Linked DNA regions of Homo sapiens: all the other regions are linked to region 4. The links are contacts of gene promoters, found by promoter capture Hi-C in blood cells and fetal thymus (Javierre and others, 2016). All regions are on one chromosome and are shown on one strand. The core of a region is centred on a gene start or on the middle of the fragment in contact, and the rest is flanking DNA. Distances in the headings are between cores, read along the strand shown.

What was found. Contacts are between HindIII fragments. The CHiCAGO score rates a contact against its expected background, and 5 or more counts as called.
Region 1: a contact is called between a fragment that was not itself captured here and the fragment with the promoter of SLC44A3 in region 4, in 16 of 17 cell types (neutrophils, total B cells, M2 macrophages and 13 more). The highest score is 24.8, in neutrophils.
Region 2: a contact is called between a fragment that was not itself captured here and the fragment with the promoter of SLC44A3 in region 4, in 1 of 17 cell types (M1 macrophages). The highest score is 5.6, in M1 macrophages.
Region 3: a fragment that was not itself captured here is called in contact with the fragment with the promoter of SLC44A3 in region 4 in 8 of 17 cell types (neutrophils, M2 macrophages, M1 macrophages and 5 more); the score reaches 10.6 in neutrophils.
Region 5: a contact is called between a fragment that was not itself captured here and the fragment with the promoter of SLC44A3 in region 4, in 1 of 17 cell types (total B cells). The highest score is 5.4, in total B cells.
Region 6: a contact is called between a fragment that was not itself captured here and the fragment with the promoter of SLC44A3 in region 4, in 4 of 17 cell types (neutrophils, monocytes, total B cells and 1 more). The highest score is 9.2, in neutrophils.
Region 7: a contact is called between a fragment that was not itself captured here and the fragment with the promoter of SLC44A3 in region 4, in 3 of 17 cell types (neutrophils, endothelial precursors and M1 macrophages). The highest score is 6.0, in neutrophils.

The regions. Positions count from the first base shown.
Region 1 is chr1:94,473,597-94,477,764 of GRCh38, reverse strand. It overlaps ABCD3 (ATP binding cassette subfamily D member 3), which reads right to left. Exons shown (of 23, transcript NM_002858.4): 5 at 3,930-3,999; 6 at 2,525-2,622; 7 at 2,028-2,151. Among named protein-coding and RNA genes, the nearest start is that of ABCD3, 57 kb to the right of the region's middle. The HindIII fragment of the contact is 2,360 bases long and covers 929-3,288 here.
Region 2 is chr1:94,352,610-94,356,610 of GRCh38, reverse strand. No RefSeq gene overlaps it. Among named protein-coding and RNA genes, the nearest start is that of ABCD3, 64 kb to the left of the region's middle. The HindIII fragment of the contact is 454 bases long and covers 1,148-1,601 here.
Region 3 is chr1:94,452,294-94,456,536 of GRCh38, reverse strand. The region is part of intron 1 of ABCD3 (ATP binding cassette subfamily D member 3); the gene reads right to left. Among named protein-coding and RNA genes, the nearest start is that of ABCD3, 36 kb to the right of the region's middle. The HindIII fragment of the contact is 2,585 bases long and covers 840-3,424 here.
Region 4 is chr1:94,818,907-94,822,622 of GRCh38, reverse strand. It overlaps SLC44A3 (solute carrier family 44 member 3), which reads right to left and starts at 2,266. Exons shown (of 15, transcript NM_001114106.3): 1 at 2,145-2,266; 2 at 1,567-1,674. The coding sequence starts at 2,171. SLC44A3-AS1 (SLC44A3 antisense RNA 1) reads left to right here and starts at 2,391. Exons shown (of 6, transcript NR_160780.1): 1 at 2,391-2,667. RefSeq lists a silencer at 2,073-2,262. The HindIII fragment of the contact is 9,215 bases long and covers 1,220-3,716 here.
Region 5 is chr1:94,405,571-94,409,800 of GRCh38, reverse strand. It overlaps a transcript of ABCD3 not described here and the pseudogene RPL21P26. Among named protein-coding and RNA genes, the nearest start is that of ABCD3, 11 kb to the left of the region's middle. The HindIII fragment of the contact is 2,862 bases long and covers 1-2,708 here.
Region 6 is chr1:94,436,254-94,439,903 of GRCh38, reverse strand. All of the region lies in intron 1 of ABCD3 (ATP binding cassette subfamily D member 3), which reads right to left. Among named protein-coding and RNA genes, the nearest start is that of ABCD3, 20 kb to the right of the region's middle. The HindIII fragment of the contact is 5,440 bases long and covers 1-3,650 here.
Region 7 is chr1:94,384,493-94,388,226 of GRCh38, reverse strand. It overlaps a transcript of ABCD3 not described here. Among named protein-coding and RNA genes, the nearest start is that of ABCD3, 32 kb to the left of the region's middle. The HindIII fragment of the contact is 2,317 bases long and covers 1,131-3,447 here.

The DNA.
Region 1 (4,168 bases), core at 859-3,358, 340 kb after region 4:
TAATTTTGTGATATAAAACTCAAGTCTCTAGAACCAAAATAACACATTAATGTACTGCTCTTTACACACAGAGACAACTCAACTAATGCACCATCAGCTGCATTAGTTTGAAATGTTTTTCAAGAAACACAAATTGTGTTCATTCACTTTAAGTCAACAGCCACTGCTTGCACCTCCACTTTTTTTTTTGAGACAGGGTCTGGCTCTGTCACCCAGGCTGGAGATCTTGGCTCACTGCAGCCTCTGGAGTAGCTGGGAGTACAGGCGCACATTACCATGCCTGGGTAATTTTTGTATTTTTTGTAGATGGGGTTTCACCATGTTGCCCAGGATAGTCTTGAACTCCTGGGCTCAAGCGATCTGCCCACCTTGGCCTCCCAAAGTATTGTGATTGCAGGGATGAGCCACTATGCCCGGCCAACAGCCAGCACTTTCTAATCCACATTATTACTAGGATAGATGGCTTGGTTTGTTAACTGGCTTGTTTCAACATCTACCTTTCCCTTTCCTTTTTTTTTTTTTTTTTTTTTTTTTTTTGCCTTATAAGTTATCAAGAAGCTAGAGATACTTATAAAATTCAAGAACTGTTAAAACTTATGACAAAAATAATGACTCATAATTTAAGTTGGAGGTCAATTAGATGTTTAAAACATCTAACTTACACACTGGTGTACAGCCCCACTACAAGTACTTAATTTAATATTCTTCTGTATTCCAGATTTGACAAAACCTGAGACTTGCTCAAGTGCCAAGATTTAAAGAATACATAATAATGTCTATAAAATTACATGGAAAGTTGTATAGATACACCCCCCATTCCCACCATGCATGCATGCATACACACACACATACACACACAGAGACAGAGAGAGAGAGAAAGAGAGAGAACAAACTTTCAAATGTGGTAATGGGAACAGAAAAGAAAGCTTAATTACTGAACTATTTGTAGTTGTCAGAGTTCCCGAGTTTGGGATCAGTTAGCAAAGGCTTCTGGAGAGCTAAATAAATAACAAAGTTGGGCTGGAAGTGAAAAGCATTGGGCCTGGGCATGAGGAGAGCAGCTCTTGTGGATATATATCTCTAAGAATTGCCTTCCCTCCATCCATCTGGTTGAAGCAAGAACATTCCTATTCTTACAATGTGACCCAGTCCTTTTTATAGTTTTGGTTTTCTTTTGTCTCAAAACTGTATATCTAGGTCAACTGTGACCAGAGGCAAAGATACTATCATTGGTCCAGTATGAGACAAGCTCCTAGCCAACACCAAGGGAAGTCACATGAGTTAGAGTGGGAACTGAAGCATCTCAGATGAAGAGGGGAGGGGATGCTGGGCAGACTATTTTATAGGTGCCTACTACATATCATAGTCAATGCAAGAGGTAATGGCAAAGAAGAGGGTTTAATAAGAAGACTACAGCAAAAGCTGTAAGGGTGGTGAGATAACATGACTAAGATAAGAACTGGAGAAATCAGTGAGAAGAAGGAAAACTGACTAAGGCCTATCACAGTCAGGAGCTTTGGCAATATTCTGAGGAGAATGGGAAAAACAGTAATTAGAAAACTGAAATATACTTGCATCTTGTGAAATTTTTTGACTACTACTTACTAATGATCTATTAGAATTAAAGATACTGAAGCAGAGAAATGGGCAGAAAGGAAGTCCTAGTCTAGTGTTATAAGTGTGGAGTTAGAAACATAAATTGACAGTCAATCTCTAACAATGGCCGGATGCACACAGGTCAAAAGATGAGAATTCAAATTTCTGTTGTTTTAATGGAATCAACCTGCAAAATTCTTAGAAAATCCTTATAAGACACTAAATTATCAGTTCTTTGCCAAAGTACCTCACAAAAATAATAGAAAAAATTAAAATAATTAAAACTATTACAACAACTCTAATTTTCTTATAAAAGCATTAAATATTTACATGCTGCTGTTATGTCCACAAAATCAATTCTATATAAATTTGCTTAGATTCAAAATTCAAAAAATTAAACAAATAATCTTTTAAAAAGGAGAGAAACTTACCTTACTAAGATTTGAATACAGATCGACTACACTGTTACAAAATTTTTCTACATCTTGTGTAAGCAGCTGGTCTGGATTAGCTATTCTGTTGTCCAGATTCCCCATTTTATAATATGTGAAAGCTCTAAAATAGCAAGAAGAAAAGTGATTTTAAAACAAGTGACTTTAAAGATAAAACAACAACAAAAAAATCATATTACACCACCTAGCTCAAATACATAGAAACAAAAAAGTTTGGAGCCAGAAGAGATCCTATTGATTGCCCTAACTGATTTTTAGAGAGGAGGACACAAGTCCAGAAAATGATGACTTGTCAATTAATGGAAGAGCCAGGACTAGATTCCAAATAACTGAAAGGTTGTTCCCAACATGCTTCTGTACCTAAGAGTGGTTTTCTTAGAAAACATACAATAAATAAGAAAAACTGCTATATTGATCAGCTTCATAAATACTCTTCTATTTAAATATTTTTAATATAAAAATAGGTTATCACTTACTGAAGATACTCCTCATAGAGGTATTTAGTGAGCCTTACTCGGAAGCACAGTTTAAGCTCATTTAACCCATACTTCAAGAAGTTATTAACCAGAGAGATCTAAAACAAACAAACAAATATTATTGGTTTTGCTTTTCATTTCTGCTTACTAAACTATAATTTATTTCTCTATTATTTCCTGTGTCCCAAATCCTACAATTTTTATAATTTAGTCCAAATTTATATAATTCAGTTCTGTTTTACTTTACTGCATTTAGCTAAACCAAATGTACCTCGTTTGAATTATTCTATGTTAAAGTTTACATGGAATATGTTAATATCACTAATTACGCGACATACCTTGCCCATTTTTTTTGGTAAACGGGCAAAAAGTCAAATATATCCCCTTTCTAGCCAATGTAAAGACTTGCTTTTAGGAGTTCAGACATTTATATTTTCTGTTTCCTACTATCAGCACTACAACCCTAGACAACGGAATTCTATATACACTATATTTGCATTTGTTAAAAAAAAAAAACACTACAGGTTTTACACCAACTAATGCTATTTTCCAGATTATTTCTAGAGCCATCTTTACTAACATTTTCCATCGTTACATTACAAATTTTCTCAAGTGGTCTTTGCTGAATCTTAATCTTTGATATCTATGTTGCTTATTCCAATTGTTTATTTTAAAAAGTCTAAAAGCTATGTAGCCCCAGCTTCCAGCTTTATTAAACAAGAATTTCTGGCAATTTCAACATAACTGGATTTTACAACCAAGCTTCTCATTTTTACCCACAAATTCAGAATATTACATTCTTACAGCGCCAAGAAAATTAAAATGAGAACCAACCTAAGAAAATCACTTATATTTTAGACTAAACAATTTATCTGTAAAAAATTCAGACCATAAATTCCAATTTAACTTAAAGTAAATTAGTAGTTCAAGTTACTGTAATAGTTTATGGCCTAAAGTAACCAGGATGATTTGCATTCCCCCCTCTAAATCCCCCCAACTCCCCAAGTTGCCCCCTGCCCATACCCATTTTGCAATGACTGGAATCATTTCTGGTTGTTAGAACTAGGAGAAGGGTGCTACTGCTATCTAATGGTCATTGATGATGCTAAACACTGAAGAAAACCTGGACTGAAGGTTAAAAAAAAAATGCCAAAAAACCCCTCACCCACATACATATGTATATGAATATATATACACATTATAAATGAAATTAAACCAAACATAATCCCTTTTTTATCTAGTATGAAGGTTTACATTGAAAATTATATTATAAATTACAAAACTAAACTGAAAATAGGAACTTAGTATCATAAGTCTTTAAAGAATTTAATAAGTAAAACCCTTAAAGATTTTAATAAGATGCAAATTTCCCGTGTTAAAAAGATTTTTAATGAATTAAACTTACAAGAGGCATGGCAGCGATGAAGTTGAGTAAGTATCTCTTGAAATCTTTCCTGCTACGACCAATGATACCACTGCAAACCACCACATGCAATGCATTAGTTGCAAAAGAAGCAAAATCTAACACTAGGAAAACTTCTGTAAAGCTCTAAAATTACTCTTGGAAACTTCTATTAAATCAAAACAATCAATAAAAAAGATGCTAAAAACCACTTTTTTGCAAAAACATGTTTGCAACTTTAA
Region 2 (4,001 bases), core at 125-2,624, 470 kb after region 4:
CATCACCCTGACCATCTCCTTAGTGTTGAACTATTCCATTAAGAAACCAGGAGGACTGTCAGGGAGCAGAACATTCTACCAGAACACATAAGCCATTCATAATTGGAGCTCCTCCAGCATTTTCCCCATCCCTATTATCACTTTTCTATATCTTTTTTTTTGGTCTGGAGAAAATAATATTTGAATTTTTAAAATATAAAATAAAAAATTTCTTCTAGAGTGCACACAAAGAAAAATCCCAGTCCTCTGTGAGCATCCTCTTCTTTAGCTATTCACATAAAGACAAGACCTCTCAAGCCTCTGACCTTTATCTTCAAAGCCCAGTGTGAGTTGAAAAAGAGACATTATACTTTTTTGCACTCTAAATTCAGATAAGTTTGAACTATCTGCTTCATTTTAGTTCTGTTTAAAAGGAAGCTTCAGATGTTTATAATACAAAACATTTTAGGAGAAAAAACCCAAGTCCTCCATGTTTAGACATAAGGAGATCCTATCACACTTTAGATCCTTTACCATTTTAGAGTTTCTCAAATGTGAAGTCTTCCTCTCTCCACATCATTCAAGATAACACACCTTCTTTTTCAGATAAATCTAGAAATGGGTTATTTAACATTATTTCTCTTCTTGATCCTTATGAAGTGACTTCAAACAGATTAGTGTTGAAAGAATGCTGCCTCAGGATTAAGCAAGAGTACATGCCTGACTTAATCAAATAGAACCATCCACTGATAACCTCTGCCTCAGATTTAGAATCCCTTTCACCTGTCCCCTAGATGCTTTGATTATTTTTCAAATAATTCTGAAAATTTGCCAAATAATTTACTGGTAATAGTGGTAGGCGTGGAGCATGGGAGGGCTGGCAGGGAAAGTAAGTTGCTAAAATGTTCCTATGCAAAGTCCAGATCCTCTTCCAATCACAGGCTAGGAAGAATGTGATCAACAGCCTAAAACTCTCAATGAGGAGGGGGGAAGGGACTGCTCAGGACGAAGGGCAGGGGGAGCAGAGGTAAATTGATTGATCTTGTCTGGTAATCATGTTCCTTCCCACTCCCATGTTACACAATGAAGGGGGAAACAGTGCTGATTATCAAAGGAAGAATATATACAGCTGTGCTAGGTTCGGGAGTTTCCTATCACAACATAAGCTTGGTAAATATATGTGTGGGGGGATGTGTCTATCTATTTGTCTATTATTGATCTTCCTATTTACTGTCTGCCTACTTACTTATCAAAATGTAGCAATGAACTCTAAGTTTTACGTATATAATATATGCATATATATCACATAGTCCCCGAGACAGGCTTGAGGAGAGCTTGTCTATTTCCTCAATGGCAACAGGACTAATATAAAAGCTCCCAGTTGCTGCCAGCCAGTTCTTAAGGTCCTTAAGAGGGTCTCTCCTGAAAGGCAGGATTTGGCTCACACAATAGATGTCATTTGAATAGGGTGACCATATCAAGGTGCTTAAAATACACAGAATATGAAATAAGAACTCACGTTTAACTTTTGGCTGCCTTTCTAGGTATTCAAATGGGAAATGACATTAGATGTTAATGTCTGGACTCCTGGTCCCTGCAGGTGGGCATGGGAGAGTGAAGCTTGCCTGAAGCAATAGATTTGGAGGCTAAGGAGGTCCAAAGCCTAAGTCTTGGTTGAGGCAGCCTTGAGAAGCAACGTGTAGTTAGTATCAGCTGCAATGCTTTAGGTTGCAAGTGACAGCCCGGTGCAAAGTGATAGACGAGTGGTTAAGTCTACGGATTTTGAGCCAGCTCTAGATTCAACCCTAGCTTTATCCCTTAACTAGCTGTGTGACCTGGGCAAAATATTCAAGCTCCTTGTATCTTAGTTTTCTTGTGTGCAAAATGAGGAAAATAGTGAACTTGATAGGTTTCTTATAAGTTGTAAATACATGGATTTATTTAAGGTACTTGAAGAGTGCCCAAAACTTAGCTCAATGTATGTTAACAAGTAATAGAATTCTCTACTCAAACTGAGTCGAACATTTAGAAAATGTATTATATATTTCTCTTAACAGGAAGCCCAGAGGCAGAGTGGGCACCACAGTTGATTGACTGAGCAGGATGACATTGCCGCCATCTCTCCATTCTGCCATCCTAAATGGGGGCTTCGTTTTCAGGCTGGTAGTAAGATGGCTACAGAAGATCCTAACATCACATTATGAGATAGGATATGTTTCCTTCTGTGGCTTTCTTTTAAAAGAAAAGCGTTAAGTCTGGCACAGTGTCTCATGCCTGTAATCCCAGCACTTTGGGAGGCTGAGGCAAGAGGATCACTTGAGCCCAGTAGTTTGAGACCAGCCTGGGCAACATAGGGAGACCTCATCTCTACAAAAAAATTTAAAAATTAGCCAGGCATGGTAATGCATACCTGTGGCCCCAGCTGCTTGGGAGGCTGAGGCTGGAGAGTCACTTGAGCCCCGGAGGTCGAGGCTGCAGTGAGCCATGATGGCACCACTGTACTCCAGCCTGGGTTTCCTCCTTAGACTTCTAAATCCTCATTGGCCAGAATTGGTCTTTTGGCAAAGGGAGTGAATAAGTTTCCCTTAGACTGATCAATTTCACCTCTGGAGCTGGGGGTGGGATCAGCTTCCTCTCACTGCTTGGAAATAAGCGAATGTCTGAATGGTGTTGCAGTTCCATCAGGAACCATCATGAAAGGGGTGGGAAAATGGTAGAGAATGAATACTGAGTAGCCAACCAATAATGACCACTACAACTATTGTGGACAAAGACCAAGAACAGGCTGAGAGAGGATGGCACAAGAGAGTACAAGAGGCAGAGCCTGGAGAGACCCATTGAGGTAATTTCCTGTTTAAAGAGCCTGTCTGTGGCCATCATGCCTGTAATTCCAGCACTTTGGGAAGACAAGATGGGAGAATCCTTTGAGCCTAGGAGTTTTGAGGCTGCACTGAGATGTGATTGCAGCACTGCATTCCAGCCTGGGCAACAGAGGGAGACCCTGTCTCAAAAACAAAAACGATAATGAGCCTGGCCAAGCCCGCTGATGGGGAGAGAGTTGTGGAGGACAGCAAATACCACCCTAGTCCCTCATTAATCCTTCTTTTGAGGTTGGAAAGGAATAGGATTATGCTAAATTCACTTGGTGGAAAACTTTAACCCACTAGGAGCATTATGAATAAGATGGAATGATGTCAAGAGCTGTGAAGTGTCTGAGATTTTACCCTACTTGCAATCTAACAAGTTAGCTTGTCATAGTTTCACGGATACTAGCAGAAGACTTGAGACTCCTGGGTCAGAGTTAAAGGCCTTATTATTCACAGCAATAACAGTAGCCAGAGTATGAGGATTTGTGCTGGTTCCCCAAGCCCCGATTCCCACAGGGTGATGCAAAAAGAGTCAGGTGTTATGTGATGGATTACATCACAGAGGAGAGACCCTAAGGTCCAAGAATCCAGATATTTTACAAAGGGGGCTGGGCTCAGTGGCTCATGCCTATAATGCCAGCACTTTGGGAGGTCGAGGTGGGTGGATCCCTTGAGGTCAGGAGTTCAAGACCAGTCTGGGCAACATGGCAAAACCCCATCTCTGCTAAAATACAAAAATTAGCTGGGCGTAGTGGCAGGCGCCTGTAATCCCAGCTACTCAGGAGGTTGAGGCATGAGAATCACTTGAACCCGGGAGTCAGAGGTTACAGTGAGCCAAGATCATGCCACTGCACTCCATCCTGGGCAACAGAGCGATACCCTGTCTCAAAAACAAACAGACAAACAAACCAACAAATATTTTACAATGGAATGTAAGCCTGTCTACTCTTTTTCCCAGAAGCAAACATTATCTTTATTACACTAGACTAGATAGTAAGTTTGTCTATCTATACTCCCTGGGTTCTGTCAAAATTTCCCATGAATACACCACTCCATTGGCCACTCTGATTAATCTGAACAATAGAGGCTAAGGGCAAATCTGTTCCATTTGTATCATATAGCATTTAATTAAGCTATTATTAAGAGGACTCAAAT
Region 3 (4,243 bases), core at 883-3,382, 370 kb after region 4:
GAAGCCCGAGGCGGGAGGACTGACTGAGCTCAGGAGTTCAAGACCAGCCTGGGCAACACGGTGAAACTCTGTCTCTACTAAAATAAAAAAAAAAATAGTCCAGTGTGGAGGCATGCACCTGTAGTCCCAGCTACTTGGGAGGCTAAGGCAGGAGAACTGGCTTGAACCTGGGAGGCAGAGGTTGCAGCAAGCTGAGATTGTGCCACTGCACTCCAGCCTGGGCGACAGAGCAAGACTCCGTCTCCAAAAAAAAAAAAAAAAAAAAAAAAAAAAAAAAAAAATTCTGTCATTTGCAACAACATGGATGAACCGGGGGACATTATACTAAATGAAATAAGCCAGGCCCAAAAAGACAAATTCTGCATAATCTCACTTACATGTGGAATCTAAAAAAGTCAAACTCATAGAAGCAGAGAATAGAATGGTGGTTGTCAGGGGCTCAGGGGTTGGGGGAAATGGGGAAAAGTTGGTCAAAAGGTACAAAGTTCAGTCACGCAAGATGAATAAGTTCTGGAGATCTAATGTACAGGATGGTGACTATAGCTTGATAATAGTAATCATTTCACAATGTATATGTATATCAACATAAAAATAAAAAAATTAGTATTCAATAAAAATGCCACACTGCTTACCACTAATAAATGTTATAAATTGATACTTAGAGATAAATGGAGATTCATGCAGTACGATGCTCACAAAAATATATATATACACATGTACACACACACCTACCAATGAGTCACATGATCAGTCAGCTCTCCCATCACTTCATCACTTTTCTCTCTCCAAGTTTCCATGAAATACCTTGTTCAGAGGGAACCATGACATCTTATAAAGCTTCAATTGGCCTGAACACATAATCTACATATAAGTCCTATTTTCTTTAATCAGTCTGTGACAATTAAAATTTCTTGCCAGGTGCAGTGGCTTACATCTATAATCCCAGCACTTTGGGAGGTTAAGGTGGGAGGATCACCTGAAGTCGGGAGTTTGAGACCAGCCTGACTGACATGGAGAAACCCCGTCTCTACTAAAAATACAAAATTAGCCGGGCGTGATGGTGCATGCCTGTAATCCCAGCTACTCAGGAGGCTGAGGCAGAAGAATCACTTGAACCCAGGAGGCGGAGGTTGTGGTGAGCCAAGATCGTGCCATCGCACTCCAGCCTGGGCAATAAGAGCAAAACTCGGTCTCAAAAAAAAAAAAAAAAATTCATTTATAAGTTTCTTAAAAACTTCTTTATGAGATTTGTTTCTCAGGAAGTTCTATGAAAATAGCTTTCACCTGAAATTATCACTATAAAAGATATTTTTAATGGCAAAACAATTCAGTATGAGTACAGAAGTTGAAGATGATTTTCTTGACTTTACATTAATACACATTAACCTGATATAAGTTCCAATACAGCAGATTTATCATACATGTGGGCTCTAGATGATCACTTAGCAACCATTTAAACACAATACTGGCACTAAAATCTGTATAGCATGGTAGTCATTCAGATAACCCAGAATATGCTTATATTAATTTATTTTTAATTTATCATCAAAATGAAAACAAAATTAGTTCTATAAAGAAAGTTCTAGGCCAGGTGTGGTGGCTCACGCCTGTAATCCCAGCATCTTGGGAGGCCAAGGCTAGTGGATCGCTTGAGGTCAGGAGTTTGAGACCAGCCTGGCCAACATGGCAAAACCCTGTCTCTACTAAAAATATAAAAATTAGCTGGGCATGGTGGTGTACATCTGTAATCCCAGCTACTCGGGAGGCTGAGGCAGAAGAATGGCTTGAACCCTGGAGGCAGAGGTTGCAGTGGGCCAAGATTGCACCACTGCACTCCAGCTTGGGTGACAGACCAAGACTTCATCTTAAAAAGAAAAAGAAAGTAAGTTCTATAAGAATTTAGACCCTGAGTAATGCATCTTTAGACCTACTATCTCTAGGTCAAAGAGATACTATCCTAGACCACCTCAGTCAAACCACAAAATCAACTATCTACCCTTTCTCTGACCCCCTCCCTCAAAATCTCTAGCTTCCTCCTCTTTCCCGAGCCCCTGACTTGAATATCTGATTTTTAATAAGGTATCTGTACCAGGATTTAATGCAAACATGTCTATATCTGAACTCACCTTTCCACCCCAAATCTATTCTTCCATTATTCCATACTGAACATAAGCCCTAAATCAGTGATCACACCTTCATCTACCAGCTACTCAAACCACAAAGCTGCGAATTATTCTAAGATATTTATTTTCCTTTTCTCATACACTTCATTTCCAATCTCTCTCTATGCTCTTTCCATTTCTACTGCTATGATTTCAATTCAGGCCATCAAAATTTCTCATGTGAACTATTATAATATTCTCACTTGTTTTCTGAGTTCGTTATCATTAGTTTCTGTCCTCTTTCAATTTATTTCCATAACCACATCAAATACGTGTATATGTATATACATACTGAATATACCCAAGTACATACACATATGCATGCCCATACATATATATATAGACCACATACATCTATATAAAATATATATCCTGTGGAATTCACCTAAAGCAATGCTCAGAACCTTATTTCAATAAAAAATGAAAAAAAAAAAGATTAATAATACAAGCATCCAACCAAAAGTTTACAAAGAACAAAAAAAAGCAGAAGAAATTTAAAACCACCCAAGCAGAATCTAATGAGTTAGAAAACAAAATACTAATACATTAAAATTCAAGAGTTGATTCTTTGGAAAATAAATCACGAGACAATCTGATTTTAAAAGGAGTACAAAAACACAAAAAATAAAAAAAATGAGCACAAAAATAGATAAAATTTGAAAAAAAAAAAGGTAAAAGACTTCTTATCTCAACTCTATGTAAAGAAATTTGAAAGCCTGAATGAAATGGTTAATTTTCTAGAAAAATATAATTTTCCGGCTGGGCGCGGTGGCTCACGCCTGTAATCCCAGCACTTTGGGAGGCCGAGGTGGGCGGATCACGAGGTCAGGAGATCGAGACCATCCTGGCTAACAAGGTGAAACCCCATCTCTACTAAAAATACAAAAAATTAGCCAGGCGAGGTGGCGGGCACCTGTAGTCCCAGCTACTCAAAAGGCTGAGGCAGGAGAATGGCGTGAACCCGGGAGGCGGAGCCTGCAGTGAGCCGAGATCGCGCCACTGCACTCCAACCTGGGCGACAGCGAGACTCCATCTCAAAAAAAAAAAAAAAGAAAAATATAATTTTCCAAACCTAGCAGAGAGAAGAAAAAACAGACTGAAAAACTGAAATTATAAAGTTGTCTGAGAGCTGCCCACCTCCTACCCTTCTATTCCCCAAAAAAGAACCAAACCAAACGATTTACCGGGGAGTTCTAACAAAACCCCCAGTGAACAGATAATTCCAATGCTTTAACTGTTTTAGGACACAGGTAAAAGAAGCTTCCACATTATTTTTGCTGCAAGTAAAACACTGACACCCAAACTTGGGCGGGCTCACACCTGCACTTTGGAAGGCCGAGCACTTTGGAAGGCCAGACGGGTGGATCCCAGTGCTTTGGAAGGCAGAGGCGGGCGGATCACTTGAGGCCAGGAGTTCAAGAACAGCCTGGCCAACATGGTGAAACCCTGTCTCTATTAAAAATACAAAAATTAGCTGGGCGTGGTGGTGCATGCCTGTAGTCCCAGCTAACTTGGGAGGCTGAGGCATGAGAATCACTTGAACCTGGGAGGCGGAAGTTGCGGTGAGCTGAGATTGTGCCACTGCACTCCAGCCTGGGAAACAGAGCAAGGCTCTGTCTCCAAAAACAAACAAACAAACAAACAAAAAAAAACAAAAAAAACCATTGACACCAAAATCAAATTCCACAAAGAAAACTACAAACTATTCCCACTTACACCAACATTTTTTTAAAATTTCAGACCATGCGAATGTACTGCCTATTCAAAAATTAGATAAATACCTTATCATTAAAATTTAAAAATAAATATGTACATAATGACTTTCAGAATAAAATCCAAATTCCATAAAATGGTACTCAAAGAACTTCATGATCTGGCTCCTGCCTTCTTTTCAGGTTCATCTCCTGCCACGAGGCACACTCTGTGCTCAAGTTACCTTCATCTATCAGGTTAAACTATGTGAAACTGAATTATTTGACCATTTCTCACTTATAAAATGGCAACTGCACATGCTTCAACCTAATACTGCGCTCTCTCTCACCCCACTATTTGCTCATATACTATCTCTTTTGCTTTAAAGG
Region 4 (3,716 bases), core at 1,017-3,516:
CCATCTCTGCTTATAATTTCAGCTCCTTCCCCCAAGCCTTTGTCCAGCCCTAACTCAGGGCACACCATCACCAGTCAGGACATCTGTCACAAGACCTGAAAGCTGAACAACAGAGGCAGAAAAAAAAGTCCAAAAACAAAACACTCCTTGCTCTGTTTTAAATACCTGCAAATAAAAAATGTTGCAAAAGACACTAAAAGCCAGTGAGCTAAGAAAGGACTCTGACTCTTAAAACAGAATGCCATAGTGAGAACTTGGATATATTAAAACTTCAGACTTATTTTGCAAATGAAATGTAATTTTAAAGCAGTTTCCAGCTCCGTGCCACCTCTCAGCTGGTTCACAATTCTTCAGGCTGTGATAGGTCATCTACAAAGATTTTCCCCAGGATTCTCAGCTGTTGGGCTGAGAGTTTGGTAGTGAGGTCCTAGGTTGAAGCTGTGGAGGGGCTACGGCAGATCATTAAATCACAATAACAGCTTGAGGTCAAAGCTGCCAGGCACAAGGCAGGCCAGCTGCTCCCTGCATTTATACAACAGCAGTCTCAGATAAAAACACCAACCATCTGCGAAGTTAAGCAGAAGGTATTGTAGGTGCACTGTCTCTCCCAGCTCCTAGGGGAGAGTTCCAACGTAAGCAACAAAAAACATCTGATTATGTGTTTCAGACCTAACCTTCCACTGTGCCTGTAACCAAGCCTGTCTATGTGAAACGGGTCATAAGTGAACAAATGCCTTTCTTACTTGGAAAGAACAAACATGATATTTTAGGGCCTATTCAGATGGAATTCTTTTCAACAAAGGTAATTACTATCTGGTAGTTATTACCCTGCTCTATAAATTAATCATTTACCATGCAGCAAATAGCATGCCTTATCCTGGCATGGATGATTTCGTGAAAGTGGCCTTTGAAAATGTCGGGTGAGACGTTTTCTGCTGTTACCTACAATTCTAAAATAAGTATAAAAGCAGCAAGATTCGGCTTCCAACAGACTCTCTCAGGATTATAACCGCATAGCCTGATGGAGTTTACCAGCAATCATACATACCTCGAAATTAGAGTGGGAAAAATCATTCCTTGTTAGCTATGGTTAACAGTGTTGGCTGCTAAACACAACATATCTCTCGCGCGCGTGTGTGTGTGATGTTCAGCTAAAGGAAATGCAGTTTATTTCTAGGCTTACCCTGGCTTTTCCTTTGTTAAAGGTGCACCAAAAGCTTGAGGAATATTTGATTTGGGGGTGTGGCAGGTGCTAAAAGAACTTCTGTTCAGTAAGTTCGGAGAGTAAAAGGAGACACATTGGCCTTACTAAATAGCAATCACATTGCAAACTGTTAATTCCCATTTCCTAATGGAGTCACCCCTTAGAACATGGCCTGTAGCAAAAAGACAGCCTTTCTAGCGAGTCTAGGACAAGAATTCTCCCGAGTACAAACTGATGTTTATTGTGGGTTAACGGCAGAAGTCTCTCACTGCAGCACCAACTACGATTTACATTTGGGACAGAGTTATTTCCAGACGTGCACACACACTCTGGCCTCTTTCCTACCAAGCACCCACACTTACCAAACCAGTCCAAAAGAGAAAGAACAGGAATAACCATGCCGTATCTGTGCATTTCCTATAAATCTGGGGTCGCCACTCCCTTTGCCTAGGGGCTCCTTCTGCAGAAACCTTCCAGAAAAAGGGAGAGTTGAGAAAAAGAAGATAAACAGGTGGACTCAACCTGGAAACCGAACCCAAATCTACTCGAAGAGGGGCCAAAGTAACCAATCTTTTTCTAAATTTTTAAAATTAATATTATTTTTTTACGTGGCCACCTGAAGCTCTTTCACACAGCCTTTGAAACACCTGCTCTGCGCGGAGCGGATGTTAAGCCCCCTGCCGCCAAGTGCTTACCTGGAGGTGCACCTGAGGACGACCCCAAGTTTGCGCCCCGCGGCCCGCGTCTCCCCCGCCTCCGCCCCAGCACTGGAGCAGGGTCCAGGTTCCTCCCCGCCAGGTGGCCCCAAGGTACTAAGCGGGGGCGGGATCCCCGAGGCGCGGGAAAGGCGGAAGCGTCCGGCAGGGAAGGTGCGTGAAGGCGGGGGACTCGACCCTTCCCCGGGGCTCCTCCCCCGAGGGCCGAGGCTGCGAGCGCTTACCAGGTACTCGGCGCCCAGGCAGTGCATCGTGCGCTCGCCGGCGGGGGCCGGTGACTGGGAGCCGCCGCCGCCTCCTGTACGCGGAGACGCAGCGCCCGCGAGCCGGGGCCGGGGCCGGGGCTGGGGCTGGGGCTGGGGCTGGAGCCGGGGCCGGGCCGGGGAGGGGCGGGCACGGTGCAGCGCCGCCTCCCGTTCGCCTCTGCGCCTGGCCCGGCGACTGCGGGCGCTGCGGTCCACTGGGTCCGCCTCTTCCCGGCATGGGTTTCTGCCCAGCTCACCCGCTGTCAGCTGGGGTCCTGCTCTGGTGGGAGGAAGAGGCTCAGACGCTTCCCTGCCCTCTCGCCTCAACCACCTCGAGGCAGCGGCTCCCAGGATGTGCACTTTGACGACTAAAGCTGAGCCGGCGCCGCCACGACCTTGGGCGGGTGGTCGGCCTCTGCCCTGAGCAGGAAGTAGAAAGTCTCAGCAGACCCTTCCTGAGGGCCGAGCAACAGTGTAGTGGCGTATTCCACATAGCAAACAGGTAAGCAGCATTTACTGTGTGCTGGATTCTGTTCTCACTGCTATTGTTATTCCTAATCTACGGAGGAGGGAAACTGAGGCACGGCCATTGGTGATGCAACTTGTTCGAGGAGACCCAGTAAGTTGTGGAGGCAGGAGTCGAACCCAGACACTCCGGGAGACCGGCGCTCTCGAGGTGGTTTACTCTGACTTCTCTCCCACCTTGCCTTAGGACAATCATTGCCTGACTTCGCAATTGAAATGGTAGTGTCCACTGAAGCGACTGGTGGCATAGTTTTCCAGGTAGTGTCAGACCAGCGCAAAAGCACTGTTGGGGTGAGGAATTTAAAAAACGAAAAACAAAAAAAACTGCAGGCCGACCTCCCCCCACCTCCTCTCAATCAAGCCTCTACCCTTCCCCCTGCCACCCTTAGGGTTGCTAGGTTAATTGCTTCCTTTAGGTGCTGCTTCTCCCTAAGGGTAGAAACCTGACTGGAGGAAAGATCTGGGTAAGTGGGAGAAACTGGGAATGATAGACAGTGGTTCTCTGGTGCCAGCGATTTCCTTCTGGGCTCACACCACCCTCCCACTGCAAACTCACTGGGCCTTCCTGGATGCATGTTTATCAGACAGAGTAGGTGAAACCCCAGGGGAACATGAATTCATAGGACAAAGAATTAGACACTGGAGGAGTGCAACTACTGTTAAAAGACCACAACTGAATAACATATGCCATCTGAAACTGATCAGTAGAGCAGATGGACCAAGATTTTTAAATAAGCATGATAAATTTATTTAAAATGAGTTATGATATTAGCAATATGAATCAGGAAAAAATATGAAACTAAAACATATTAAGCATAAAAATAATAATTAGAATGAATATTGATGCTACGTATTAGTAATGTGCAATAGTCTAAAAGATGCAGCTGACGATGAATTAGTAATTGGAAGAGCACTTTCAGCAAACCTCCAGAGGCAGTAGAAAATGTTTTAAAAAACAAGTTAGCTTATTTGTAAATTTTCTAGCTTATATCTAGGGTAAAACTAGAACAGAAAGGAAGAAATATA
Region 5 (4,230 bases), core at 28-2,527, 410 kb after region 4:
CTGCTCCCCACTGTCCTCATGTGACAACTGGCCACTATCTGATTCTGGATTCTGTACCACTATGTGCTACCCACCAGAGTGGAAAATTGCTAAAATCTGATGTGTCAGAAACGCCACAATGATGCCAGAAAGTTCTAAAATAAAAAGCTATGAAAAGCCAATGGAGTCTTTATTATTGCTGTTTGTATAATTTTTTAAAGTTGTAATAAGTAAAGTTTCACCGATATAACGGTATATGGTAATTATAAATTTCAGGATCAGAAAAATGTAAATTGGGTTACAATACAATGTGGGTCTAAATTAATTCATACTATATTGTCTCAATTGCCTATGTTATAAAATGTATCAATGATCTATCAGTGATTTATTAGGGAGAAAAGACCGAAATACAAAACAGTTAAAAAAATAAGATGAATTTTTATTTTAATTTTTAACTTTTGTGGGTATATAGTAGGTGTATATGTTTATGGGTTACATGAGATATTTTGATACAAGCATGTAATGCATAATAATCACTTCAGGGTAAATGTGGTATTCATCGTTGCAAGCATTTATCCTTTGTGTTACAAACAATCCAATTGTACTCTTTTAGTTATTTTCAAATGTACAATTAAATTATTTTTTACTATAATCACGCTGTTGTGCTAGCAAATACTAGATCTTATTCATTCTTTCTATTTTTTTATACCCATTAACCTTCCCTACTTCCTCCCCTCCTGCCACCCCCCAGATGATATATGATTCAGTGTAAAAAGGACCCCAGGAAAAAAGGCCTTAAAAGTTATAAAAAGGAACAGATTGATAAGGGTAGAATTAGTATAAGGAAAAGAAAGCGCATAGGAGTGTATAACAACATGAATGTGGTAGCCGACTTTATCAGGGTCTTATTGCAGTTTAACATAGGAGGAAGCCTTGTGTTCTCTGCCTGATTCCAGACTTAAGTTCCTCCATCCTTGTGTTTCATTGCAATGAAAACTCTTTTTATAATACACAATTATGATCATGTCAGTCTCTCATCTAAAATTCTTCAGCTACTCTCCATCACATTAAGAATAAAATCCAAACTTCTTAGCATGGGAGTATGCTTTTCTTAGTGTGGTCCTAGCTTAGCTCTTCTGCTCATCCAGCCATATGGATGATTTATCGTCTCCATATGGCAGGCTCTGCCCATTCTTTGCATTCTGATTTTTTTGTTTGTTTGTTTTTTGAGATGGAGTCTTGCTCTGTCACCCAGGCTGGAGTGCAGTGGCGCAATCTCAGCTCACTGCAACCTCTTTCTCCTGAGTTGAAGCAATTCTCCTGCCTCAGCCTCTCTAGTAGCTGGGATTACAGGCACCCGCCACTACGCCCAGCTAATTTTTTTTTTTTTTGGATTTTTTTAGTAGAGATGGGGTTTCACCATGTTGGCCAAGCTGGTCTTAAACTCCTCACCTCAAGTGATCCCCCCACCTTGGCCTCCCAAAGTGCTGGAATGACAGGCATGAGCCATCGCAGCAGCCTTGCATTCTGATTCTAGTAACCTAATCTGCTACCCTGATCCCGGTGTATATTGTCTTTCAAGACTTGGCTCAGTCAACGCTTTCTGTTATGTTTTCTCTATCTTTCTCTACCCTCAAGTCAAAATAAAATCTTCTTTGCTCCTCTATAATAGAAATGACAGCTCTGTATCGTACTGGTTTATTTACTTAACTTCTGCATCTCTTAGAGAATGAGTTCCTTCAGGAAAAGTTCTGTACGTTTTTTCTGCAAAGGGCCAAGTAATAAATATTTCAGGCTTCATGGGCCAGAGAACCTCAGCCACCACTATTCGGCTCTGCCGTTGTATCAGGAAAACAGCCAAAGACAATAATATAAATGAATCGGCATTGCTGTGTTCCAATAACACTTTATTTATGGACTCTGAAATTCGAATTCCCTGTAGTTTTCAAATGTCAAGAAATATTATTTTTTGTTTGTTGTTGTTTCTTTATTGACCATTTAAAAATGTAAAAGCCATTCTTAGCTTGCAGGCCATACAAAAACAGAAGGTAGGCCAGATTTGGTCCACAGGCTATAGTTTGCTGACCATCGCTTTAGCAGCAGGAATGAATTGATTATAAAATAACTACCAAGAACAAACTCGAGATCCAGATTCCTCAGTTTTTAGTCTAGCCTGGTGCTCCTGATGAGCTGGATAATATTCACATACACAAATCACAACCAGTTGTAAGATACAATGGTTGAGAAAGCCCCATTTATAATAGAAACAAAAAAGATAAAATATTTAGGAATAAACTTACAAGAAATGTGCAAAACCTATATGAAGAAAATTACAAAACATTCCTGAAACACAGAAAAGAAGACTTGAGCAAATAGAAAGACACCCCTTGTGCTTGGTAATCCCAGCGCTTTGGGAGGTCGAGGCGGGCGGATCACCTGAGATCAGGAGTTTGAGACCAGCCTGACCAATATGGAGAAACCCCATCTCTACTAAAAATACAAAATTAGCCGGGCATGGTGGTGCATGCTTGTAATTCCAGCTACTCGGGAGGCTGAGGCAGGAGAATCCCTTGAACCCAGGAGGTGGAGGTTGCGGTGAGCTGAGATCGGGCCATTGCACTCTAGCCTGGGCAGTGAGAGCAAAACTCCGTCTCAAAAACAAAAACAAAAACAAAAGGATGTTTCAATATCATCAGTATGTCAGTTCTCCCTAAGCTAATTTATAAGCTTAATGCAATTTTAAGAAAAAAATCCTATGAGGTTTTTTGTTGTTGTTGTTGTTGTTGTTGTTTTTATGAAGGTAGACAAGTTCATCCTAAAGTTTATAGGGGAAAATAAACATCAAAGAGCAACTGAAAAGGCAGGTTATAGCCCCACTAGATAGTGAAACATACTATAGCCTTTTGGCTGTAACCACCATCTTTCAGTCATTCGCCAAGATGATGAACACAAAGAGAAAGAGGAGAGCCACCCAATACATGTTCTCCAGGCTTTTTAGGAAACATGGCATTGCTCCTTTGGCCACATACATGCAAATCTATCAGAAAAGTTAAGTCATAAACATCAAGGAGATGGGCACTTGTTGAAAAAGGAACACGGCACAAGTGTTACCATGCCATAACTGGAAGTCTACGATGTTCTCAGGATGTTGTTGACATTGCTATAAACCAATACTTTAAGGACAAGATTCTTATCAAGAGAATCAGTGTGTGTACTGAGCACATTACATCATTACATACTCTAAGAGCTGAGATAGCTTCCTGAAACGCAAGAAGGAAAATGATCAGAAAAAGAAGGGAGCCAAAGAGAAAGGTACCTGGATTCAACTGAAGCGCCAGCCTGTTCCACCCAGAGAAGCACACTTTGTGAGAAAAACTGGAAAGGAACCTGAGCTGCTGTAACCTATTCCCTATGAATTCATGGCATAGTAAGTGTAAAACAACAACAACAACCCACTGGACTGTAAAAAAAAAAAAAAAAACAAAACAAAATACTATAAAGACTCTATCATTAAAACAGTGTGGTACTAGTACATGAATAGACAGATCGACAGAATGGAAAGTCCAGAAATGGAGACAAGTGCATATAAAAATTTAGTGTATGATAAAGGTAATATCCCTTCTCACTCAGGCAAATATAGTTGTTTTTTTTTTTAATAAATGGTGTTGAGATCGCTGGATAACCATTTGAAAAAAAGTTAAATTCCTTCCTCAGACCATACACAGGAATAAACTCCACATGGATCACAGATATAAATGTGGAAAATAAAATTACACAAGTACAACAAGAAAACATGGGTAAATACCTCTGTAATCTAGATATCAGAAAAGGTTTTCTGTTACTAAAAATTCAAATGCACTAAAAGAAAAAATTGATAAATATAATTTTTAAAAATTTCTAAACTTTGGCATGCCAAAAACCATAAGCAAAGTCAAAAGGCAAACAACAAACTAGAAGAAAACATTTGCAGCCTACATTGCAAATAAAAAATCAGTATCCCTAACTGATAAAGAACTTATAAAACTTAAGGAAAAAGACCAAAAATCCTACAGAAAAATAGGCAAATGACAAGAACAGACAATTTACAAAAAGAGATACAAAAGCTGGTCTTTAAACACGTTGGAAGATGTTCAACATCGCTCCTAATAAAGAAATGCAAGATAAACTATACTAAAGTCAGTTTCTCACCCACAACTTTAGCAAAAAAATTCAAAAGCTTGATAATGGCGGTGTCTCATGCCTGTAATCCCA
Region 6 (3,650 bases), core at 313-2,812, 380 kb after region 4:
CCTGGGGAACACAGTGAGAGTTTGTCTCTAAATGAAGTACAAGAAGCCAATGCTAGACATAAACTCACAGCATAAAATAATATTTTTTAAACTTACAAATGTGGTGATAAAATATTAGAAATTTAGAAAGAAAAATAATTTCAAAATTGAATATGAAACCATAAAAAGTACAAGGGCAAATAAACACAACAGATAAAACATGAAAGTAAATATACAAATTATATACAAATATACAATTTCATATATTCAAACAAAACAGAGTATTTTTTATTTTTGATAGAGTCTCGCTCTGTTGCCCAGGCTGGAGTGCAGCAGCACAATCAGTTCACTGCAACCTCTACCTCCCACGTTCTCCTGTATCAGCCTCCTGAGCAGGTGGGACCACATGCACATGCCACCACACCTGACTAATTTTTGTATTTTTAGTAGAGACAGGGTTTCATCATGTTGGCCAGGCTGGTCTCAAACTCCTGACCTCAAGTGATCTGCCCACCTCAGCCTCCCAAAGTGCTGGGATTATAGGTATGAGCCACTGCGCCCAGCCTAGAATTTTTTTTTAATGTGAAAAAAAAATCCTTTGGATACACAAAAGACCAAGTCATTTAAAAGGGAAAAGCAAAAGAGATTAGCCACAGACTTTGTTAACAACCCTCAGTGTCAGAAAACAATAGAGTAACATATTTAAGATATTCAAGAAGAGAAAATGTGAACCTAGGATTTTACATCCAGACAAATTTTCAAGTACAAAGGTCACAGACAAACTGTTTGCAACATGAAACAATTCAGAGATTATTGTTCCATGAGCTCTTCCTGAGGAATTTACTACAGAACAAGCTCTGGACAAGAAGAATGACTATAAAGCCAGTGACCTAAAAAGAGGTAGTGAGCACTCAATATGGATTTACTTGCAGAACTAGGAATAAATGAGAGTTAAAAGGGAAAGAATACATAGCAGTGTACCCTCAAAGACACTTCACATTCAGTTCCAGACCACAGCAATAAAGCTAACAGGCAATAAAGTGGGTCACGTGAACATTTTGGTTTCCCAGTGCACATAGAAGTTATGTTTACACTATACTGTGTAGTCTCTCAAGTATCCAATGACATTACGTCTAAAAAAAAAATCAATGGACATACCTTGGTTTTTAAAATACTTTATTGCTAAAAAATGTTCATCCTTTTGCTGGTTGAGGGTCTTGCCTCCATGTTAATGGCTGCTGAACAAACAGGGCAGTGGTTGCTGAAGGCTGGGGTGGCTGTGGCAATGTATTAAAATAAGACAGCACTGAAGTTTGCCATAGTGATTAACTCTTCCTTTCACAAAAAGAGTTCTCTGTGCCATACTATGCTGTTTGATGGCATTTTACACAATAGAACTTTCAAACTTGGAGTCAATCAATCCTCTCAAATCTTGTCACATCAACCAAGTTTATGTAATATTGTAAATCCTTTGTTGTCATTTAACAATGTTCACATCATCTTCACCAAGAGTAGATTCTATCTGAAGAAATCACTTTCTTTGCTCATGCATAAGAGGCAACTCTTCATCCTTTCAAGTTTGTGTGTGTGTGTGTGTGTGTGTGTGTGTGTGTGTGTGTGTGTATGTGTGTGTGTGTGTGTGATGGAGTCTTGCTCTGTTGCCAGGCTGGAGTGCAATGATGTGATCTCGGCTCACTGCAACCTCTGCCTCCCAGGTTCAAGCGATTCCCCTGTCTCAGCCTCCCAAGTAGCTGGGACTACAGGCGCATGCCACCACACCCGGCTAATTTTTTGTATTTTAGTAGAGATGGGGTTTCACCATGTTGGCCAGGATGGTCTCGATCTCCTGACCTCGTGATCTGCCCGCCTCAGCCTCCCAAAGTGCTGGGATTAGAGGTGTGAGCCACCACACCTGGCCATCCTTTCAAGTTTTATTATGAGATTGAAGCAATTCTGTTGTATCTTCAGATTCCACTTCTAGTTCTCTTGCTATTTCTATCACATCAGTTACTTCCTCCACTGAAATCCTGAACCCCTCAAAGTCATCCATGAGGGTTGGAATAACTTCTTCCAAAATCCCATTAATGTGGATATTCTGACCTTCTTCTATGAACCACAAATGTTCTTAATGGCACCTAGAGTACTGAATCCTTTCCAGGTTTTCTATTTATTTAACCCAGATCCATCACAGAGATAACTATCTATGGAAACTACAGCCTTCCAAAATGTATTTGTTAAATAATAGGCTTTGAAAGTCAAAATTACTCCTTAATCCATGGGCTGCAGAAAGGATGCTGTATAAGCAGTCATGAAAACAACATTAATCTCCTTGTACATCTCCACTAGAGCTCTTGGGTGACCAGGTACATTGACAATGAGCAGTAACATTTTGAAAGGAATCTTTTTTCAGAGCAGTAGGTCCCAACAGTGGTATTAAAATATTCAATAAATGATGCTGTAAACAGACGTGCTGCTATCCAGGTTTTATTGTTCCATTTACATGTAGGCAGAGTAAATTTAGCATAATTCTTAAGGGCCCTAGGATTTTCACTATGGTAAATGTGTATTGGCTTCAACTTAAAATTGCTTGCTGCATTATCCCCTAACAAAAGAGTCAGACTGTTCTTTGAAGCAAGGCATTTACTTATCTTCTCTAGCTATGAAAGTCCTAGGTGGCATCTTCTCCAATAGATAGCTGTTTTGTCTACATTGAAAACCTGTAGTTTAGTATAGTCCACCTTTATCGATTATCTTAGCTAGATCTTCTGGATAACTTGCTGTAGCTTCCACATCAGTACTTGCTGTTTCACCTCGCAATTTCATATTATAGAGATGGCTGCTTTCCTTAAACCTCATGAACCAACCTTTGCTAATCTCAAACTTTTCTTCTACAGCTTCCTCACCTCTCTCAGCCTTCACAGAACTGAAGAGTTAGGATCTTGCTCTGGATTAGGTTTTAGCTTAAGGGAATGTTGCAGCTGGTTTGATCTTCTATCCAGACCACTCAAACTTTCTCCCTATCAGCAATAAGGCTGTTTCTTATCATTCTTGTGTTTACTGAAGGAGCAGTTTTCCTTCAAGAACTTTTCCTTTGCATTCACAACTTGGCTAACTGGCACAAGAAACCTAGCTTTTGAATTTCATGGCACCCCAAAACAATTACAATAGTAACAACAAAGATGTCCAATCACAGATCATCATAACAGATATGATAAATGAAAAAGTTTGAAATATCACGAGAATTACCATAATATGATACAGAGACATGAAGTGAGCACATGCTGTTGGTAAAATGGCTTCAATAGACTTGCTCAATGCAGGGTTGCCACAAACTTTCAATTTGTAAAAAACACATTACCGCCAAAGCACAAAAAAGTAAAGTGCAATAAAATGAGGCATGCCTATATCAATATGCTCTGACAACACAGATACAGTACAACCAAAAAATAAGGAAGAATGGAAAGAGCCTATGTGAAAAAAATTTAACTATTTTCAGTAATCATATTAATAGTAGAGATATTTGTATTATTATTTGGAGAACACTGAGTGTGTAAAGTGGGATAACGCAACTGAATATTTCCGTGATACTCTAATTTGACCATCAACTGTGTCTTTGAGAATCAGGATTATCAGTTTGGGATACAAGGAGATACAGATGTAAATAGAAGATG
Region 7 (3,734 bases), core at 1,040-3,539, 430 kb after region 4:
GGCGTTCATAGATAAGAATTCCTTCATGGGAATTATGTTTTATTTTTAAATAAATTTCATGTCTATCCCTTGCTTCCTTGAAATAATTTTACTTGTACTTGGTAACTATAAGTAAATTTTACTTGAAAAGTATAGCCATGTCTGAAAAACATAATTAAGAAACATACAGAGTTGAAGAGCAGTGTGGGCTTTGATGTCAAATAGACCTACCATTTCTAAGTTATGTGACCTTTGAGCAAGTGACTTAAGCTACCTGAGCCTTCACTCCCTCATTTGTATCATAAGTGCTCAGTGCAGGAAAACAGAAAGCACCTTGGGTATTTCAAGCAGAAAGAGATTTAGTACAAGGAATCAGATTCTTTAAAAATTAATTGCCCAGGAGGAATAAAAGTTGGGAGGCCATCATTCACTGTCACATTATAATGCTGCTGCTGTTATTCAAATATTAGAAAACTTCAGAGACCCTTGTCGCACTCAGAGCTGAAGATCGCATAACACTGACAATGTTTACTTAACAACTTTCACCCATGCAGAATAAAAGTTGCTATTTTCCTCCCACAACTATGTTTTATGAATGCCTGATCCTACATTTGAATTTTTTTCTTCTGTTAAGTAGCACAATGGGTTTGGTTTTGCTAAGGTAAACCCAAAATTGAGTTTGTGAAAGGGTTCAAGAAATGGAATTGTTCTTCATAATAGAAGAGTTTGGAGTTCTTCAGACCATCAAGAAGGGAAGGGGTAAGGATGAGAAGGAAAATGGGAGAAATATGGAGAGAGGAGAGAGCAAGGTTGTCAGTAGCCTGGTGCCATGTGGGATGCAGCAGGGAGCTCCAAGAGCTTATAGAAATGGAAATGGTTACCTGTTAGTGTCTTTTAAAAAAATGCCCCAGTTAAGGCACCATCACTGCTTCCAGTTTCCACCAAACCAAAGTAAATAATGATGGTATGGACTATTTCAAACTACTCAAGTCCTGTTGTTAAATAGAGGCTCAGAAAAGTGAAGTGGTGTCAGAGTGGCAAATGGCAGAGTCAGAACACACACCCAGGCACTTGGCAATAACACTGGGGAAGGTGTCAGACCTTCCGTAAATTGTGAAATAAAGGTTTAAGCATATTTAGCAGGAAAAGCTTCGCATAGAAAAAATGTTCCAAAATACAGAACCAAAGCTAAATAATCTCTGTGAGCACATCTACTGAAAAGAAAATGTTAACAAATCAAGGAGATAGTTAAACTTCTTATAGCAGCTCCAAATAATCATCATAGTCTCTCAGAGACACAATTCTAAAAATTAAACAGAATAAAAGAAATGCTGCTCATTGAAAATCTTAATTGACCCAGTAAATTTTATTTTATTTTATTATTTTTTCTTTTGAGATGGAGTCTTACTCTGTCACCCAGGCTGGAGTGCAGTGGCTCAATCTCAGCTCACTGCAACCTCCGCCTCTTGGGTTCAAGCAATCCTCCTGGCCTCAGCCTTCTGACCAGGGAGTTTTTTAGTCATCAAATACTCAACTGACTGCTTAGAAAGTTCAAATTGTTATATTTATAATTCTCATATTGACTACAAAGGATTCAGAAAGTATAAAAAGTTATTATACTAATCCTACAGCATTTTTACTGCCTTTTGCCAAATTTATTGTATATATTGACTTGTGATATTGTTATGTATCTACCTGTATTTTCCCTTCCACTGGATTAAAGTTCAGCTTTGCATTTCTGCAAACTGCCTTGTAAATAATAAGTAGCAAATATATGCCAAATTAAATTGATAGTCTAGCGGTACTAATAATGTGTAATAGAAGAGATTAAAACCCAGGTTATCTTAGTAATTTGACACTTGCTTTGAAAAGTGTGAGAATGTGTTTTTGAAACTCTACGCGTATTGTTTCTATTATGAAATTAAAATATAATTTAGGAAGCCCTGAATTAATATCACACCTTTCTTCCAAGAAGCCTGTTGCTCATCATGGCCTTCAAGGCCACTGTTTAAGAAATAGATGGTCATTGCCAATCCCACCACCCTTCTACCCATCCATGGCCCAGAGAAAGGAGTTCTTGGCTGTTCATCTTGCTTTGAAGGGAAATGTGGCTTTGGCAGCTGTGGGAAATTTCTTTTTTTCTTTGAAACTTACATATAAAACATATTGAGAGAAAGAAAGAAAGAAAGAAAGAAAGAAAGAAAGAAAGAAAGAAAGAAAGAAACAGATTCTAAAAGTAATCTCTTCACTTCTAAAAATTTGGAAACTATAGTACGTATCAGGTATCGAGAAGGAAGTGAATATAACTCCTATAAGCTAACTTTCTAGTCTTTTTTTCTTGAGCATTTTTTTTTCATGGTTAAGATTACACACTGCACATTCTACTTGGTAACCTGCTATATATAGACATATATCTATATGCATCTCCGCACCATTTATGAGAATTGATGTCTTTAGTGACACAGATAAACATCTCTTAAAGTTGGGTTAGGGTGACAGTTCTCAAGCTATGGGTAATGATTAAGAGCAGATTCATAAGTTAGACATAGGAGCTTTGAAATGTAAAGTTCTTTGGAAGATTAGCTACGCATATTTTCCATGGACAGGAAAATGGAACTCATCTGTGTTTGAGGCCATGGCTGACACATACAGAGTACCTCTGTACCACCAGGTGCATGACAGCCAGAGAAATGGCAACAGATGGCAGGGGTTGGTGTCAGTGGCTCCTGGTCAGGTGGTAAGTGCTCTGTGCAACAGCATGGGTACAGTCCTCTGGCCTCTTTCTTCTTAACTGCTCCACATCAAGTGTGTTCTCTTGACACTTTTGCTCTCCCTCTTTTTTCTCAGCTTGCTCTCTCTCTCTTTGCTTTGTATTCTGGAGTCTCCTCACATGTTGTAAAATCAGAGGTCTCCTTCCAGTCCACAAGTGTATTTTATTTGCTCAGGACACTTTCTAGACTTCCTGGAATGCCAGTTCCAAGATAACCTCATTTGTTCCCCAACACTCACCTCTCGGGATGGCCATGTGCCCCTTCTGTCAGCTAAGAGAATGCCCCATTCTTCACTCTGGGAACAAGTCTCCCCAAGGTGTTTCAGAGAGAGCAAGATTTAATCTGCCCAGATCTGGTTCCTGCTACAGGAAAAACTCAGTTCTCGGGGATTCATCTGTGCAGCTGCCACTCTACTTCCTGTTCCTGGCTGCTATCAAAGTCATTCACACCAGACATCATTTTTTTAAAAAAACAGGTTCAGCCTTTGAACAATGTATCTGCTCCTCATGTGTGTACTTTAGGGCTGGGTAGGCCAGTAATTCCTCTTCTCTCCATCTCTTAGGGACTTTGGAGAAAGGCCCAGCCTTTTTGCTCTAACTATGCTTAGCATTGCCTCCCCTGCAGCCTCTGAGCCGCCACTCACACCTAAGAGTAGCTGTCGGCATTAAGTGGAAACTCCCTCTGAGTTAAGAAAGCTTCTTTTCTCCCTCTGCTAGGGCTTTTAGAATTTTCCTGGTACATCTGACTCTGCTGGGTCTAGGAAGCACATTAAGTCCCACAATCCACCTGAGTAGTTAGGGTCTCAAGACATTATCCTTTGCTGCAGAAACATCCACAGTAGTGCAGAGATTGGCACCCACTACAAGCAAAAGGCTGGTTTCAGAAATTGTCTCTCTGAGTGTTGAAGTCAAGGTGGTAGTGTTGCCTAGGATAAAAAATGTTTATATTAACTACCCTTTATTGAGCCCCTAGGATGGGCCATGT